Linked DNA regions of Homo sapiens: all the other regions are linked to region 2. The links are contacts of gene promoters, found by promoter capture Hi-C in blood cells and fetal thymus (Javierre and others, 2016). All regions are on one chromosome and are shown on one strand. Each heading gives the region's core, a stretch centred on a gene start or on the middle of the fragment in contact. The rest is flanking DNA. Distances are from core to core; before and after follow the strand shown.

Evidence for each region. Contacts are between HindIII fragments. The CHiCAGO score rates a contact against its expected background, and 5 or more counts as called.
Region 1: a fragment that was not itself captured here is called in contact with the fragment with the promoter of RPS7 in region 2 in 1 of 17 cell types (monocytes); the score reaches 5.5 in monocytes.
Region 3: a contact is called between a fragment that was not itself captured here and the fragment with the promoter of RPS7 in region 2, in 2 of 17 cell types (non-activated CD4 T cells and M0 macrophages). The highest score is 5.8, in non-activated CD4 T cells.
Region 4: a fragment that was not itself captured here is called in contact with the fragment with the promoter of RPS7 in region 2 in 2 of 17 cell types (fetal thymus and monocytes); the score reaches 5.7 in fetal thymus.

Annotation. Positions count from the first base shown.
Region 1 is chr2:6,874,433-6,877,132 of GRCh38, forward strand. It overlaps a transcript of RSAD2 not described here. Among named protein-coding and RNA genes, the nearest start is that of RSAD2, 2.0 kb to the right of the region's middle. The HindIII fragment of the contact is 4,988 bases long and covers 1-2,700 here.
Region 2 is chr2:3,573,874-3,576,620 of GRCh38, forward strand. RPS7 (ribosomal protein S7) reads left to right here and starts at 1,387. Exons shown (of 7, transcript NM_001011.4): 1 at 1,387-1,477; 2 at 1,719-1,811; 3 at 1,944-2,015; 4 at 2,614-2,747. The coding sequence starts at 1,737. It overlaps LOC124907726 (a long non-coding RNA gene), which reads right to left and starts at 1,236. Exons shown (of 2, transcript XR_007086196.1): 1 at 262-1,236. RefSeq lists enhancers at 940-1,515, 1,516-2,092 and a silencer at 1,644-1,933. The HindIII fragment of the contact is 5,628 bases long and covers 47-2,747 here.
Region 3 is chr2:6,845,020-6,847,739 of GRCh38, forward strand. It overlaps a transcript of CMPK2 not described here. Among named protein-coding and RNA genes, the nearest start is that of NRIR, 5.9 kb to the left of the region's middle. The HindIII fragment of the contact is 2,326 bases long and covers 101-2,426 here.
Region 4 is chr2:258,993-261,692 of GRCh38, forward strand. All of the region lies in intron 1 of SH3YL1 (SH3 and SYLF domain containing 1), which reads right to left. Among named protein-coding and RNA genes, the nearest start is that of SH3YL1, 3.7 kb to the right of the region's middle. The HindIII fragment of the contact is 3,075 bases long and covers 1-2,700 here.

The DNA.
Region 1 (2,700 bases), core at 74-2,573, 3.3 Mb after region 2:
TTTCTTTTAAATTTTCTTGCAATTATTTCTACATTATTTCTTACAATTTCCTTGTAAACTCTCATCAGAGTTTTGATCATAGCTGTTCTGGATTTTTCTCATCCACGATTATTGTTTTAAATTCTTCTCTAGAAGCATTTGCAATCAGCTATAGCCCAAAATTACTAATTAAGGAAAGCAAAATTAATTAACCGAAAGTAAGTAGTTGATAAGGATAACTTTATGACTTTTATTTAAAATGTTGGTTCTACACTTAAATTTTTTTTCAGATTCAAGGAATTTTTCTTTCATTAGTTATAGTTTGCAATAATTTGGGGAAGTATACTTTTATGAACAAAAGTGGAAGCATTTGCCTTTCTCCCTACTTGAGTCCTCCAAAATTCAGACACTATTTGTGAGCATTCTTATTTTATTTCTGTAAGTTCAGTAAAAATCTGCTCTCCCTTTGTAAGCAGGATACTATTGGAAATACTGATTATATTACTAGGCTTTGATTGAAAAGTCATATTTAAGAAGGGTCATCACATGCCTGGCTTCAAGAGTTCCCAGCCTTACAGTGAATACATAAAACTTGTCACTTCCTGGTAGGCCCAAGAACCTTAAGACCCTAAGTAAAATCTAAAGCCTGCCTTGATTTGGCTTCCTAGCCTCTAGAGGTTCTAAAACCTGAAAGTTCCTGTATGATTAATGTGGAGAGAAAAAGTCATGTTCTTAAGAAAAACTAACGTGCACCTACTTTAGGTTAAAGCCCTATGCACTGTTTTCAAGTTCTGGTTTTCTACCTGTAGACTGGACTGGATCCTGAGTTCTCCTAATTTCCTACAATATCTGGATACAGTTAAATCCTGATAAAGTTTACCAGCCCTCTTCCCTCAAGCAAAACTATAGAGCCTCTTGGGACATTTCCCCTACTCGAATTATTCAACTAGGGGAATTAGGTATTAAGATTGGAGAAAACTCATCAGAGCTCTGGTCAACACTGGGGCTACTCTGTCCATCCTTAACCCCAGCATGCTTTCCATGGACCCTCCCTGGAGTTCTGAATTCATCCAGATGGTTGGGGTAGCCAACCAACCTATGATGGTTCCTAATCTTCACCTATTCTTTTCCAACTAGTACCCCTCACGGGCAGTTGTTTTTCCTTTGGGCTTCCATACACTTCCTAGGCAGGGACTTCTTAGAAACATTCCAGGCCCATATTTTATTCTCCCAGAAAGGAGAAATAATGCTTGAGTTATCCTCACCAGGAGATTTGGCCATGGAAATACCTTTTACCCAAATTCCCATCTATTCAGTTATCCCCAACACTACCTGCCCTGTTCTCTAACAGCTATAATCCAACACTCATGATAATCCCTCAGATTATGAAGATAATAGTTGTGGATACTCTCAAGGATATAATTCATCTAGAAGGGTTAACCCTAGAAGGAGCTAGATTAGGAAGGTTTTTCCGGTCCCAATTTAAACTAGATTCTGCTTGGAATTCATAAATGATCAGAAACCCTTCCTGAACTGTTCGCAGGATTGCCTGCTCTACCACCCAGGCCATCAGGGTGCAACAGAGGTCCATAGACTCCCTTGCTCGTGTGGTCCTAGACAAACACATTGCTTTAGACTATCTCCTCCCTGCACAGAGTGATGTTTGTGCTGTTGCTGCCACTTTCCACAGGGTAAATACTTCCAGGCAGGTTGAATTTGAAACATCTAAGATCTTAAGGCTAGCCAAATCTCTGAAAAACAGCTTCAAAAAGCCTCCTGGCTGGACCTTCTAGGTTAAGTTTCTGATCTCCAGATATTTCCAGCCGGCTTCCCCTGCAGTAGGGTTCCTTCTGCATGCCACCCTACAAGTCTTGATCCTCCTTATGTTTGGGCTAAGCATTTGGAGCCTCTTTAAGATTTTCCTAGCCTATTTTAACAGATGCCTGCAAGAGACCCCCACTAGGATCGTGCTGACCTAACCTTTGAGACTTCAAAGGTTGCTCCAGCCAGAAAGGGGAACCAAGTTAACCCAAAAGAATTTGATTCAAATTTAACAGGTGCCTGTATGCCTCTCATGATCACATGTTTATGAAGAAGTGAGATCTATCCAAAAGTGGTTTTCAATTGTGCAAGACCATGGCATGAGAGTTTAAGAAACTTTGGGCTGAGATTTCAAGGACCTGAGACATATCTACTGTTGAATATTTGGTAATCATTAAGCATACAATTTTGCAGATGTTAAATGTTAAGTTAAACATGTTTAATTTTTTTTAAGTAAAATAAATCATTTCTGTTTCTATTCAGAATATGACAGTATCAGAATAACAGGAGCTAACCCTAACTGAACACTTAAAGTTTGCCAGGCACTATTCTGAATTCTTCACAAAAATTAGCAGTTTTACTCTGCACAAAAATCGCCTGAGATACGTTGCTTTGCTGATGAAGAAATGGAAATCCAGAGAAATAAAGTCGCTTACTCAGTCACCCAGCTACATGATTTGTGGCTCTGGAAGTTCAGCTACTAGGACTCTTCCAACTTCCTACAGGTGTCACGAAAGCACAAGACCACACACTTACACACAGTTCTGATGAAAGAGGGCTAAAAGGAAGATTTCAGTAAAAAGGTCAACAAGGCTTTCTAAAAAAACTGTAAAGGTAAATAAATGATGTGTCGCAGTAATTCTCACCAATTAGGAAGCATCTTAGAAAAGCATTGGATTT
Region 2 (2,747 bases), core at 137-2,636:
TAACTTTAATTTTTTTTGTTCTCAAGTGATAGGTTCACAGAGAAAAAGCTTTACTGGATGAACTTTTAGATTACTACTTTTATAGAGCAGCAGAGATAAAAGCCAGGTCGAAAAGTGCATGTGGAGTAAGGAAATGGACCTAGTTCGACAAAAGGGCTCAGAACGACTGCCCAGATGAGATTGTAGACGCAGCTGTAGTTTACTTTCTATCTGGAAGAAACTTCAAGTTATCCTTAATTTTCCAAGGAGACAGTCACTTACCTTTTAAAAAACATTATTAGAGAAGCACCGGGCGGGAGCATATCTAGCATTAAAAATGTGGGATGAATACCATCTCTGCTTGGTAAAGGTGGTTGGGAATCCTGAGAGAGGGCACCTAGTGTGGCTTCTGCATTTTTCACAGTGCCTGGACCACGGCTGAAAGTAACTCTTGCATGACATTTGACAGAAGAGGAAACCGAAGCTCAGATTAAATTCCCTGTCCACAGCGGGATCATTCGGCACGAGTTCCTCCCTGTCTGGAATGCTCTTCCCCAGCAATAGATCCTGCGGCTCTTCCGTGTCTCAGTCTAATGTCATTCCGTTCCAGGATTCCCGACTTCTTAAAGCATAAATAATCCCTCCCCACCCTCTCATTGTACTGTTATGTAAGTTATTACAATATGTCATTATATATTTAGTCATACTGCTTTAGGTAATGTCTTCTCCACTGAACTGTAAGCTCCATGAGGGCAAGAGTTCAGTCGGTTTTACTTAATAATTAGCACCTAGTACAGTACTAGCATAGAATGAAGGCCTCGCAATTTTTTTTAAATTTATTTTTAGACAGGGTCTTGCGCTGTCGCCCAGGCTGGAGTGCAGTGGTGCAACCTCGGCTCACGGCAGCCTCGACCTTTCGGCTCCAGCGATCCTCCCGCGTCGGCCTCCGGGGTAGCTGGGACTGCAGGCGCGCACCACCATGACTGGCTAATTTTTTTTTTTTTTTTTTTGTAGACATGGGGTCTCGCCATGTTGCCCAGGCTGGTTCCTGAGCTCAAGTGATCCTCCTGCCTCGGCCTCCCAAAGTGCTGGGATTACAGGCGTGAGCCTCAGCGCCCAGCCAAGTTAGCCTTTTTTAAACGTCCTGTCTCCGGAGGTTGCCGAAGTTGGTTTTCTTCGGCCTCCTTCTCTCTCCCAGGCCCAGGGCTGGGACGAGGCCGGTTCCCGCCTGCAACCTGCACTGAAGACGGGAACCTTGGGAGCCGGTACCGGAACGCTCGGAAACGGCACCAAAGTACGAATCCTAGGGCGGAAAAGCGTTACCAAGACACTCGTCCCCAGAGCCGCTTCCTGGGACTCTCTAGCCTCCTACCGCTTCTCAGTGATGTTCCGGTTTCCGCCCTCCTCCTCGCGCTGTTTCCGCCTCTTGCCTTCGGACGCCGGATTTTGACGTGCTCTCGCGAGATTTGGGTCTCTTCCTAAGCCGGCGCTCGGCAAGGTAGGTTGGCGGCCTGCTCTCCGACAGAACTTTTCTTCTTGGGTTGAGGAAAACGCCTTTTGGAGTCAGGCCCTGGAGGGGCGAGCCTTGCTCACAGGGTGGGGATACAGCCGATTACCCGCCCTGTGCTTTCCGATGGCTTCTGCGGGGCGAGCGGGGCCTGGCCGGGGGGTGCGGGCGGGAGGGCGAGCCAGCGGCGCCTGCAGCCCGGGCCGCGTAACGCTGACCGCTGTGCCTTCAGTTCTCCCAGGAGAAAGCCATGTTCAGTTCGAGCGCCAAGATCGTGAAGCCCAATGGCGAGAAGCCGGACGAGTTCGAGTCCGGCATCTCCCAGGTGAGAGGGTTTCCCTGGGGTCTGGGGTGGGGGGAGGCGCCCCGCCCGGGAGGGGAGGCGGCCGCGCGTGTGTTGGGCCCGGGGTGCTCGGACGCGCGCTCAGGGTCGGTCCTGCTGTTCGTTGCTTCTTAGGCTCTTCTGGAGCTGGAGATGAACTCGGACCTCAAGGCTCAGCTCAGGGAGCTGAATATTACGGCAGCTAAGGTAAGCTGGCGCTCCCTCGGCTGGGAGGGAGGTTGCGGCGCGTCTCCCCGCGCAGTGCCTGAGAGGGTTGGACCTGGGTTACGGTTGATGATGACTTGCCGCCTGGCCGCCTAACCTGAACTCAGGTTCGGCCGTGTTGTTTGGGAGTGATACCGCCCAGGTGCGGGGAGTGGGGTTGCAGGTACCCTGCGGCTTAAGCTGTCCACATGCGGGCGGTGGAGAAACGTGGAGTAGGGAGGGCCTGGGCCCATTTCGGACCTTATTTGCCCTTACTTAGTTATAGATACGGCAAAGAGCTGTGGGGAGCTCAGGATGAGATTCTCTCTACCCTTAGCCCGGAGTTGCCGCAAGTGGGGGTGCAGAAGTGGTAGTGATTGGCCTCCTGGCCTGAACAGTCTCCCTTCCTGGAATAAGGAAATGTGAAGGTTGGAGAGAGATGAGAACATTTCCGAAGGATGCATTTATGATTAACTCAAAACTAGTATTAGTTTGTAGTGCAGCTACGGTGTTAGTGATAAGGTCTTCTTATCCTCTAATTTGACCACAACGTTTACTTTCTGAAGCAGTTAACACAGTGGATTTTTGTTTTTTTCTTTAGGAAATTGAAGTTGGTGGTGGTCGGAAAGCTATCATAATCTTTGTTCCCGTTCCTCAACTGAAATCTTTCCAGAAAATCCAAGTCCGGCTAGTACGCGAATTGGAGAAAAAGTTCAGTGGGAAGCATGTCGTCTT
Region 3 (2,720 bases), core at 14-2,513, 3.3 Mb after region 2:
GGGAAGTATCTTTTGTAGGCTTGTCTGACATGGCTGCCAAGAGTGTGGGGTCAACTGTACAATGCTTACAAAGATTTGGGTTGTCTCGCAGGGCAAAGAAAGCTTGTATATAGTAAACCTTGGACCATTTACCCTCCTGCCTACAGAAAATATCTAGTTGTTGAATAGTATATAAAAAAAGACTTCCCTCAGAAAGCCAGGTTTTTTCATCTCCAAGATGGTAAAAAGGCCATGTCCTTGTACAATAGAATATGAGCCATTTTATCATCAGAACCTCAGCATCAAAGGAGTTCCAGTGATTCAGAATGCACTCGAGGAGATTACAGACTGCAGATGGTTTGTTACCCATCTAATAAGAGATGGGAGACAAGGCATCCCTCAGTCCCCTTCCTCCTCTCTGCGTTACCCAGGGTGGAGGGAAAGAGAGAAAAGGCATTCCTCTTCTCCTTCCTTCTCTCCTCTGGGTCCCTGCAGCCATCATAGGTGCCGCCCCATGGATGCAAGCATATCCTTCACCCATGGATCCAGAGGAGCCAGTAGGGCAGGACTAGTCATGCTCACCTGCATAAGGCTCTAGCTTTCTGCCCTGCTGGATTCCTAGACCCACTCAACCCAAAAGGCTCCCAAAGTACCCTAAGAGGCCTAGGAGAGATTCTGTAGTAGTTGGGTTTGGGCAAGACTCTTTAATGCAGGGAATGTCCTAATACCATCTGTGGCTTCCCTTGCTATAGCCCCAGTGAAAAATCAGAATTCCACAGAATGGGACTGATTAACTTCCAAACATAAAATTCCTTTTTTAAAAAATCCCATTGTAGTTGAATGCAGAACAGGTGCCTCAAATGAGCATAAGAATTGAATGGCTGCCATTCCTTTGATGGGGAGAGTATTGAAGCTAAGATTTGTCTTATCAGGATGGCTACCTCCCAGCTGTTGAAAGTGGAGATTTTTTTTGTTGTTTGGTCTACAAATAGGACATGGGCTCTGATCACTGATAGAGGAACGTAAAAGGGAAAAGAATTGGGAAACAAGGAGTTTGGGGCAGAGGGATGATAAGGCTCCCCAGGGAGAAAAATTCCTTTCCACTAGGTGGCATTGTAGGGTTAGAAATGTTAGGTAAAAACTCTGACTCCAAATTCTTTTCAGGCAAAAGTTAGAAAGAGAGATTTGGGGTTTGATAGGTTGCCCCCATAGCAAGCCCAGACCGTAAGAAAATTAACTTCTCTCATAAAAGAACTGTTTAAATTCACTGGACAATGCTGAGCTATTATATGGAGGAAAAAAACAACCCAAAAGGAGACGAGGATATTCACTCGGGGTGAAAGATCCTCCCATATGGTGCCATGAATGTCTATTATTGAGGGATAGAAAGGCCCTTACTAGGTGAAAATTTAGACTGAAGTCTTGAATTCCCTGTTTCCAGGAAATCACAAAAACAACAACTCTTTGAATTACATTCTTGATTATTAAGATACCAACTAACTCTACTCCGCAAGATTATATCCCTAGGTTACAAAAACACCCACAACATTGCATAGAAAGAAGAGGTTGGAGACATGATAGCCACAAGAAGAAAGAAGGAAAATGCAATAGGAAAAGATTGCAAGTCTTTGTGCTGACTCCCTGATGGGCTGTAGGGGACTGGAGTTAGTCCAAGGGCCTTCAGATAACACTGAGGGGGTAGCCCCAGCCAGAAACCTTCAGTTGCCCTGGGACCTTCCAATCCCACATGATGGCTAGGCCCTCTGTGAAAGCAAACTAGACTGGAATAGACAAGAAGCCTCAGAAATGCAAGTAAAGGTGAAAGTTAAAGGTCAACTCTTAATCATCCTTCTGATGAATTCCCTTCTTCCCAGCCAATGCACCAAAATGTGTTGTAATCTTACCAATGCACCAAGATGTAACAGTCTCCCGTTGTCTGAGATAATATCCAGAGTTCTTTGTCCTAATTCCAAGAAGATTAAGGAGTGCAGACAACAAGGGTGAAGTTGGAGTGAAACTTTAATAAGCGAAAAAAGAAAGCTCTCTGCCAGCAGAAGGGGGAGCTCTAATGGGGTGCCCACTATGAGGCCAGTTGTGGGGGTTTTACGGGCTGGAAAGGGGAATGAATGTGCTTAGTCTACCGGCTGTCTTGGAGAAGGCATGACTCAGCTTGGCCAGGCACCCTGGCCCAGGACCAATCAGAAAGCCTGGCCTAGGACCTTTGCCTGGGACCAATCAGGGGCTGAAGTTATGATTCACAGAGGCCAGACTCACAGTCCAAAAACTGGCAAGGAAAGTGCCCACTGGAACTAACTGGAGCCCACTGTGCCCACGCCCACAAAAGGAGAAAAAAACTTTTTCCTGGGAGCCTGCTGACTATACAAAGGACAAAGGTGTTTTTATGCCAGGACTTGTTCCCTCATCTGAGTGAGCCAGAGGTTTGTGCAAGCTTTTATCTGAATGGGCCAGAGGCTCTCCTATCTGTGCAGCCGTAGGCATGTCTCCAGGCACAACACCCTGTGCTAGTTCCCTTATCAGTGCCTGCAGCTTGATTTTTTCCCCAGGCTGCTTTTTACATTATGTGGGGTGAGGCACTGACTGGTGGGCCGAGGGCTCTCTGGGGACCCTTCCCTTGCTATTTACCTAAGGCAAGCTAATTCCTTTTAGTGTCATCCTCATCTCTTGGTCCTTAGATGGCTATCACCTCTGAATACAGCCGATATGAAGAGTTAAAGGGGAAA
Region 4 (2,700 bases), core at 112-2,611, 3.3 Mb before region 2:
ACTCAATTTCTGCCTCTTCTTTTAAGCAGGAGCCTGGGCTCTGGGTGCCCCCTCCTTGTCCTGCAGTTTAGGAAGTGCTCCAGGCAGAAAACGGTCACTAATGGAGTTCACCTCCTGTTCCCCTTATCTTGTGGATCTCAGACATGTCCACCATGTGCAAAAAGTGCTCTACACACAGCTGTCCAGTTTCCTAGCTGTTTACCATGTGTGAGTAGCAGGAGCCATTTCGCTGCCCTGGCCAGTAGCTCTCAGTGCATTTTCCATTTGTTCTTTTATGATGAGCAATGCTGACCACATTTCACTCTCTCTATCAAAGGTTTCTCATGCACCTTGTTATTTACAGGGGGTTTCTCTCTGTTTCTTATTAATTTATACATTAAAAATTAATATTTTTTTGGAATATGAGTTAAAAACATTGACTCTCTGTTACTTGTCTTTTGAATTTGCTTTTTTTTCTGTTTTTTCTTAATGAAATCAAATCTGTCTTCTATCTTACAAGGGTCTTTTAATAAAACACAGTAATTTTGAAGTTCAAATGGGAAAATAAACAAGCAAGAAGAGCTAGGAAAAAATATGTAATAGGAGAACAATGACAGCCCAGCCTTGACAGAACCTGTGACACATTACAAAGCCTCAATAATTAATACATAATAGCAGATGCAAATATAGGAGAAAAATCAATTCACAAAGAAGAAAATTCAGAAATTAACCCAAATATATTTACAAATTTAGTATATAATAAAAATGACACCTCAATTCTATGTTGAAATGATGTATTGCATACTAGATAATGTTCATTTGGGGAGAAAAACAAAAATTCATTCACAGCTTTGTGTTACAGAAAGATAAACTCCAAATTCATTGAAGATTTAGAGTGTCAAATATCAAATTATAAAAGAACCAGGAATTATAGAATTTTTTTTCAATTTCATAGTGGAAAAGACCCAAGTATGGCAACAAAATTTCTATATTTCTATATTTTTACATGATCAGCAATTATTTGTACAACGTACAAATACATTGTAAAATACAGGAAAAAGTACAGATATGAAAATATGAAGGATAAAAAGCATCTATAACATTAATACTCACCAATACTACTGTCTGCATTTTGATGTATGCTTCAATTGATTCCTATTGCGAAACATGTAGACTGATTCCACTTTTAGCTTTTATAGCCATTACTATCAGGTGGTAATTATCTTGGGAGAGATGCTCTAGATGCTCAATATGTTTTAATTACATTTATACATATATCTAGATGCTGGATACATTTGAATTAGTTCACTGGAGTGGAAACTTGTTCTTTCTGCTGCTGAATATTTCATCTACTTTATTTCAGAGGCAGCACAACTTGTCTGCTTACATTGATGCTGCAGCCATAGTATCTGGAGTGGATTGGGTGACCCGAGGCTGCTGTATCAGGACGACATTCCTTTTGGTGCCACAGCAGGGCTTTATAACCAAAGCTGGTCCAATACCAGCATCTGATGGGGGACTTGTATAGGAGCTGCCAGAATAACTTTTTCCAAGGCACTTCTGTTTCCACTTGCTGTGGGATTTTTGTCTCCACAAGGGGAGAGTCTGAGAGCAAAGCCTTCATAGGGGAACCTGGCAGAAGGTGGAGAGAGCACCTGGGCTCTGCAAAGCCAGACTGAAGTCACAAGCCGCTCTGGACTTCTTCGTCAAATGGACCAGCAACATCTTTTTCTGTTAAAGCAATTTAGACTAGATTTTCTGATACATGCAACTGAAGCACTGTAAATAATACATGAATCTTATCCCCTCAGAAGACTTTCTACTTTGAACTCTCTCAACCAAGCAGTATTAGAGCAAATAAGCAAATTCCTCAGTTGAGAGTTAATCTTGCAAACATCCTGCTGTAGGGAAAGGTCATGGCCTGATCTGTAAACACGGGAAGAGAGCCATTGGACTTGGGAATCAGATGCAGCCTCACACGGCTGCAGACCGCAAGACTCATCCTAGACACAGCTTATGTCACTGTGATCCAGCTGTTGACAAGGCTGGTCACAGTGAGGACATCTTCAGTGTGTCAGCTGAACTACAGAAAATGTTACAGATTCTAATCAACTTCTGATAAAATCATGCGTGGTCATAGTTACATGCAGTGAATTTCTCTGTCAGAACAAAAAGAATATGCAAATAAAAATTTAGACATAAGCCTCAAATCCCATCCTCAGCATCAAATGATGGCTCACCCATTTTTCCTCTGCTGTACCATAAGGCATATAGAGCATGACCTGATCAGAGTGCTGATGTCCCATTCTATCATACTGATGAAGACACAGGTCATTACTAATGAAGCCTCTTAAACCTCACATCATGGTTAGCATCTGCACTCTCATAAACGTCTTAAGTCCCTTGAATCAGGCAAAATCTCTATAAATATTTAAGTTTTTTCTAAAAAAAGAGTGGCTGCCAAACCTCAAGCTAAGAAACTTTCAAATAAAGTTTTCTTTAAAACAAAAGTTAAAATGTTTTAAATTTTCATAGTAACACATTTTTTTTTTAAATTAGAAGGTCTTATAAAATACCGGAAAGACAATTTTTACTTTGGAAACCTCAAAAGCATAAATCAGCTTAAGATCTGGAAATAATTTTAGGTATTGATCGCAGTTCTATAAACTCAATGCTAGAGTCACTGGGGACAAACAGGGACATGAGAATCCTACTCGGAGT